Regions from separate parts of the Homo sapiens genome. Here region 1 is linked to region 2. Evidence: promoter capture Hi-C in 16 types of primary human blood cells and fetal thymus (Javierre and others, 2016). All regions are on one chromosome and are shown on one strand. Each heading gives the region's core, a stretch centred on a gene start or on the middle of the fragment in contact. The rest is flanking DNA. Distances are from core to core; before and after follow the strand shown.

Region 1 (2,854 bases), core at 351-2,850, 1.5 Mb before region 2:
CCTACCTATGTTTTCCCTCAGCTTCTTTCCATATTTTTCCTTAGTGGAAAATCTATAATAATAGGTTCTGCTGTTTTATTAAAAATATAAGGGATATTTGGATTGTGTTATTTTATTCTGAGGTCTATTATTACACTTTCCAGTATTTCCTTTTGAAAACATAATTAAGTTTATTCTTATAATATAATGTAAATACAATTATTTTCTCATTTGGGGAATATATTTTAGAGTGGCTATTAGCAGTATACAATATTACTTTTATTTGTTTATAAAAGCCAGAGGAATTAAGACAGTACAAATTCCACGTTCCATTTTTAATCTTCATAGTTCTTTGTAGGTTTAGCCACATTTTCCTTCCTTATTTATTTCATAATTTGAAAAACCATAATGACATCTACTTGATCTTGAATTGCAATAAAATTTTCATTTTTGTCATAGCATTTACCTCATTTTAGATAAAATTTGACTTAGATGGTTTGGTTTTAAATTGTTGCTGTTGTTTTCATTTGTAAGCTTCATGGTAGCCTGTACACTAAAAATTACAAATATCACTTGTCCTTGCACAAAGTTACCCTCTAATTTAAATATTTTCCCTCAAACTTCCCCTTATTCTGACTTGGGATATCCTCATGTCATTAAAGATTTTGATTTCCTAAAAGGTCCTCAAAATTTTGTAGAAAAGCACTTTATTCATTACTAACCTAGTATATACACATATGATTCTAATTTTCTTCCCATGTTTTAAGGCTTTTATAGTAATATTACACAAATGGTCTGCCTAACAGCCAATCATTTCCAAGATAAAAATGGGCCAAGAGACAAATGACAGGCAATTATTAAGCCTTTTAAGGAGAAACTGTTAAGCCTAGAAGAATATTGATACAAACTGACTTTCTGCACAGTGGACTCAACAAAGCTAACATAATTCACACCAGAGATTCTCTATGGGACCATAAATTAATCAGATTGAAAAGATGGCAACCCAGAAACACAATAAATTGTTCTATGGCATAGTAAGGCACCCTCCACATTCTTATTTTCAATGGCACAATAAGACACATACACACACACCTGACAAAGAATGAATAATTTTGGAAAAAGCTGCCATGTTTTCAGTTTAATCTAAAGACAGAGAGAGAAAGAGGAGGAGGAGGAGGATCCTATATTCACTCCTAACTGCAAGTTTGGAAGAGGTATGAGGAATTTGGGAGTGAGGCAAAGAGGCCACAATGTAAGGGAGAATTGAAATACAACTCGAAAGCCTGGCATCCATGAGGTGAGAGGAGAGCAGGAGATGCCAGAGTTACCCATTACTGACTTGGCTTACTTTACAGAACACAGGAAACTGTTGCTTCTAAGAAAATATCTATTTCATCATAAAAGAATTACAGCTCTTTTGTACATATGAATTTAGCCTGTTTTAATTTTGCCTGGCATTTTGGCTTTGCAAATCTTTAGGTATGAGTGCTAAAGTGTTATTCCAACCATTTCACTCTTTCCCAGTGAATGTTAGAACAATCACCTTTCGGTTAATAAACATGCAGTTTTTTACAACTACTATCACAAGTAACAGTTTAGTGTGTAGAAAGAATCAATGGTAAATTTTGGTGTTTCCAGTAGCTCAATATCTCATTTATCCTTTAGGTATCTGGCAAGCTGTCTTTCCCTTTTCTGGTCACCACTCCTCTGGGGATGTAGCCAAGTACAAAATTGCACATTTCTCCTCCCACAAGTGTCTCAGCTCCCACAGAAAACAAAATCTACATCAAGCATGTTTAAGATGATCTACATGTGAAGTAGAAAGGTTAACACACAAGAGGAGTAACAGACTCATTTATTTATTTATTTTTACCTTCAAGGAGTTTAAATACAAACACAGAGAGAAAACTGAAAATAAGCATGATTCTAGAATTTGTATTATTGTTATATATATATTTTTTAAGTAGATAAGCATAAAACTAAGGAATTGCTCAGATGACCAAGTCTGGAGCAAAAACATCTGACACAGGAAAGTGAGAAAATAAAATGGGGGCCTTGAGTAGAAAAATTTCAATGGGTTAATTTCTGCTGGCGTTCAACATGTTATGCCATAGCAAACAAATAAGAATCATGCTGGGTCTCAATTTATCAGATTCCTTTAATTTACTAAGACTGCATATTAAACTAAATTGTTAGCAGCTGGTTGACTACCTCAACCTAACTCAACTCCTGGGAGCAATTACAGAGCTTCTCAAAATCTGTCCCTGTGTGCATCAAATTGATGTTGGAAAGAAAAAGATACCTCTTTCTAAAGTACTTTATTTCAGCCTTTCAAATTCACCTTCTGAAACCTAGGTGACATTCCTTCTAAACACTGTATACGGTATTGCTTAAGACAAGGAAAGTTTTCCCCCAAAACTATTTGTGCTCCCTTCACTCTGGTAGAATTTTTGGTAAGTTCTTTGGCCTATGCCCACCATATACTAGGCCGCCCTTGCTCACAGAAGGCCACAGCAAACCCCTTCTGCAAGCCCACGATGGAATCGTAAATCTTTACAACTTATTGAAGTCTTCCAGATTTTTAAATATGCCCATGATCCAGACTTTTTGCTTGCATGTTTAAATGGTTGCCTGATGGCTTGCAACAAGAAGTAGAAAGGCATTTTTCTTAAAATAAGCAAACAACCATGGCAAATGAGGTCATATTCCCAAGCTTGAATAATAAATATTGCTAAAATCTACAACCTGAAACATATTTTAAGAATTAGACATAGATTTGGGTTTTTTCTTTCTTTTTCAGGAAGGGGTCTCCCTTGCTGCCAATAAAAATTGCTTTGTGTTGTAAAATTTGGGTTCAGCTTGTCTCCTCCTTATA
Region 2 (2,763 bases), core at 139-2,638:
CAAGTTTCACATGACTTCATTCTTTCAGGAGAAAGCTAGGCAGAAGCAAGAGCACTCCCTTCCTATCTACTGGATGACTCAACTCTCTTCCGCACATTCCTCGGCTGAATCCTACAAATTCACTAATTTCTTTTGTCCTTTGAACTAGTTATCCTACTCCCTCGGTAAAGAACTAATAGGCTCGGCACCTACTTTTCAATCATTTACATTTTGTTACACCCTATCAGCCTCAAAAAGAAAAGAAAAAAGCTATACCAAAAAAAAAAAACAAATTTAAGTTGACAGGTACAATAACTCTTACAGGAAAAGAGATGTGAATTATGTTATTCTAGTAACTGATTCTTAAATGATACACCTACAGTTTTCTAATGCTCTAATCTTTCTATCCTCAAGGTTTTCCAGATTTCAGAGACAGCACAGGCAGAAACTAAGTGTATATACCACTTGATCAAGCTTACTGCGGATTTATTCTTGGATAGCTAAAATAAGGTAGTGGGGCTTGCACAGAAAACATATTTTTAATTAAAAAAAAAGTTTCCAACAGTGAGTAACATCTTCCTTCTCGGCTGACTGTGCCAGTGTCAGTCCCACGCCTGGGCCCAGGCTAGGCCGGGGCTCACCACACCACCCTCCACTGTGGTCCAAAGGAGAAAGCAGGGCCGTGTGTGGCAGGTGCGCATCGTGTCAAATTGGGGGGCACGGGGAGTGCGGCGGGTGGGGAAAGGCGAAGCAAGCCGCCCGAATCTCCCATGGGGCGTTCTCCAGCCCGGCAGGCGGCGGCTGGCCCGTCCCACGGGCACCAACTCTCCATTTTCACTCCCACTCAGGGTTCCCGGGAGGAACGCGCCGGCACCACACCCTCCAGCTCGCAGCCCGCTCGCACACACGGAGCCCCGCGCCGGAGCGGGCGCCAGGCCTGGACGCGCGGGGCCACCAGGGCTCTGCCTGCCGCCCCGCCGCGCCGGCCCCACCCGCCCTCCCCGCCCCCGGGCCGGGCGACCGAGGCCTAAGCGCCTGCCGGGCTGTGGGGCCTAGGGAAGGAAGGAGCCCGCGCTGAGGAGGGGCGCCCGCGCCGCGGCCCCGAGCTCCGGCTGTCCCGCTCACGTGCTGCCAGAAAGACGGTTTCACTCTCTTACCCTCTGTAAAATCCTCCTTAACATGGTTTAACCACCACCCGGCGCCGCCGCGGTGACTCTCCAGACCCTGCGCGGGGCCACTCACTACTCGGGGTGCGCGGGCGGGAGGGACTGGGCCGGGAGGGGACCGGGAAGGAGGTCGGGGCGAGGCGGTGGCGACGGCCGCTCGGGCGGCCCCGACTTCCCCACAGGCGGCGAGAGGGAGCACGCGAGAGAGAGCGAGCGAACGACTAGGCAGCCTGCGAGCGCCTCCAGCCCGCCCGCCGGGCAGCCCCCGTAACTGACAGATGGGCGGGCCCGCCCGCGGCCGCCGGGGGGCGGGGCGGTGGCGGGCCCGCCCCTCGCCTGTCCATTCGCGGGAGGCGGGGCTGAAGGGGGCCGGTCCAGGCCAGCGACCAATCGGAAGCGGTGGCAACGTGGGCGGCTGCGTGACAGACAGGCGGCAGGACGCTGTCGCCGCAGCTTCTTCCGGCTAGCTGGGGGACGCCGAGGCTGCGGAGTGCACGCCTGGGCTCCGTCAGAGGGCCGCGCCCGCGCGACGACCGCGTGCCCGCTAGTGGGAGGCGGGCGAGGACCCCTGGGGGTGTCCCTCCCTGACCCAGGCGGGAGGAGGGGACGCCTTAGGCTGTTTTGTAAAATGTGTCGGTGTGACCCTTCCGGCGATGGCTCCTGACTCGACGTGGTATTGAGCCTGAGCTATATGCTAGTTTCTGCTGGAAACGCTGACTCTGCCTCTTAGCCCCTGGGTTGAAGCCGACTAGAGAATCTCAGACGTGCTTAACCGGTCTGTTGGGCTTCCCTGCCCTTTTCCAGTCCCAGGTTTCCTTTCCCTGCTCCCTTCCTGCTTCTAATTTCAGCCAAAGAGAAAGCAAAGATTTAGAAAAGAAGGGTAGGAAGAAGCTGGAATTTGAATTGGCAAGAGAAGTTTGAGGTTGTCTTTTCTAGATCAAAACAATTTTTAATAGGCTGATGTTCACATGTTGCACTTTCTAAAGCCCGTGCTTGACCTCCTAAGGAATTTTAAGTCCTATTCTGATAATCGATTTATGAAGTAAATTGTCATTAACGCCTCTGTTTTATAGATTAAGAAGAAAATGAGGTCACAGATAAATATCGTGCCAAAACGACGTGGTCTTTGAACTGACCTCCAGGCACGATGTCATTATTTAACTCGAGAAATCACAGCTTCTGCGTCCTACCATTCTGCCAATATTCACAGCCAAGAGGCTCAACTTAACACCCTGGTAGAAAAAGAGAAGCCTTTAATATTGCTTGAATAGGGAAGGAGAGGGAATAATGGAACTAACCTTGCTGGGAGGGAAAAAAAAAAAAAAAGAAAAAACCAACAGACCACTGAATGAAGCCTATGAAGCAATGAATGGAGTGCTTTTTGGAAAGCACTTCCAGATCTTTTGAAAAGCAGCACAAAATTAAATATTATTTGCAAATCAGTTAATGAATAGGAAAATGTTTTGTAAAGTATAATGCATTATATAATGTAATATGATATTTCTATCCCAAATATATTTGGTTTTTTATTATGTGTGTGTGTGTCTCTCGATGGTGCAGCAGCACGGTCATGCCTACAGCTAATATATGAGTAATCACTAGTGATAATGCACTTACA

The links. The method cuts DNA at HindIII sites, captures the fragments that hold promoters and counts their contacts. A CHiCAGO score of 5 or more calls a contact.
Region 1: a contact is called between a fragment that was not itself captured here and the fragment with the promoter of EEA1 in region 2, in 1 of 17 cell types (fetal thymus). The highest score is 7.0, in fetal thymus.

The regions. Positions count from the first base shown.
Region 1 is chr12:91,377,891-91,380,744 of GRCh38, forward strand. All of the region lies in intron 4 of LOC105369896 (a long non-coding RNA gene), which reads right to left. Among named protein-coding and RNA genes, the nearest start is that of LINC02823, 52 kb to the left of the region's middle. The HindIII fragment of the contact is 2,179 bases long and covers 512-2,690 here.
Region 2 is chr12:92,927,907-92,930,669 of GRCh38, forward strand. EEA1 (early endosome antigen 1) reads right to left here and starts at 1,389. Exons shown (of 29, transcript NM_003566.4): 1 at 1,137-1,389. The coding sequence starts at 1,160. RefSeq lists a silencer at 779-1,858. The HindIII fragment of the contact is 15,624 bases long and covers 452-2,763 here.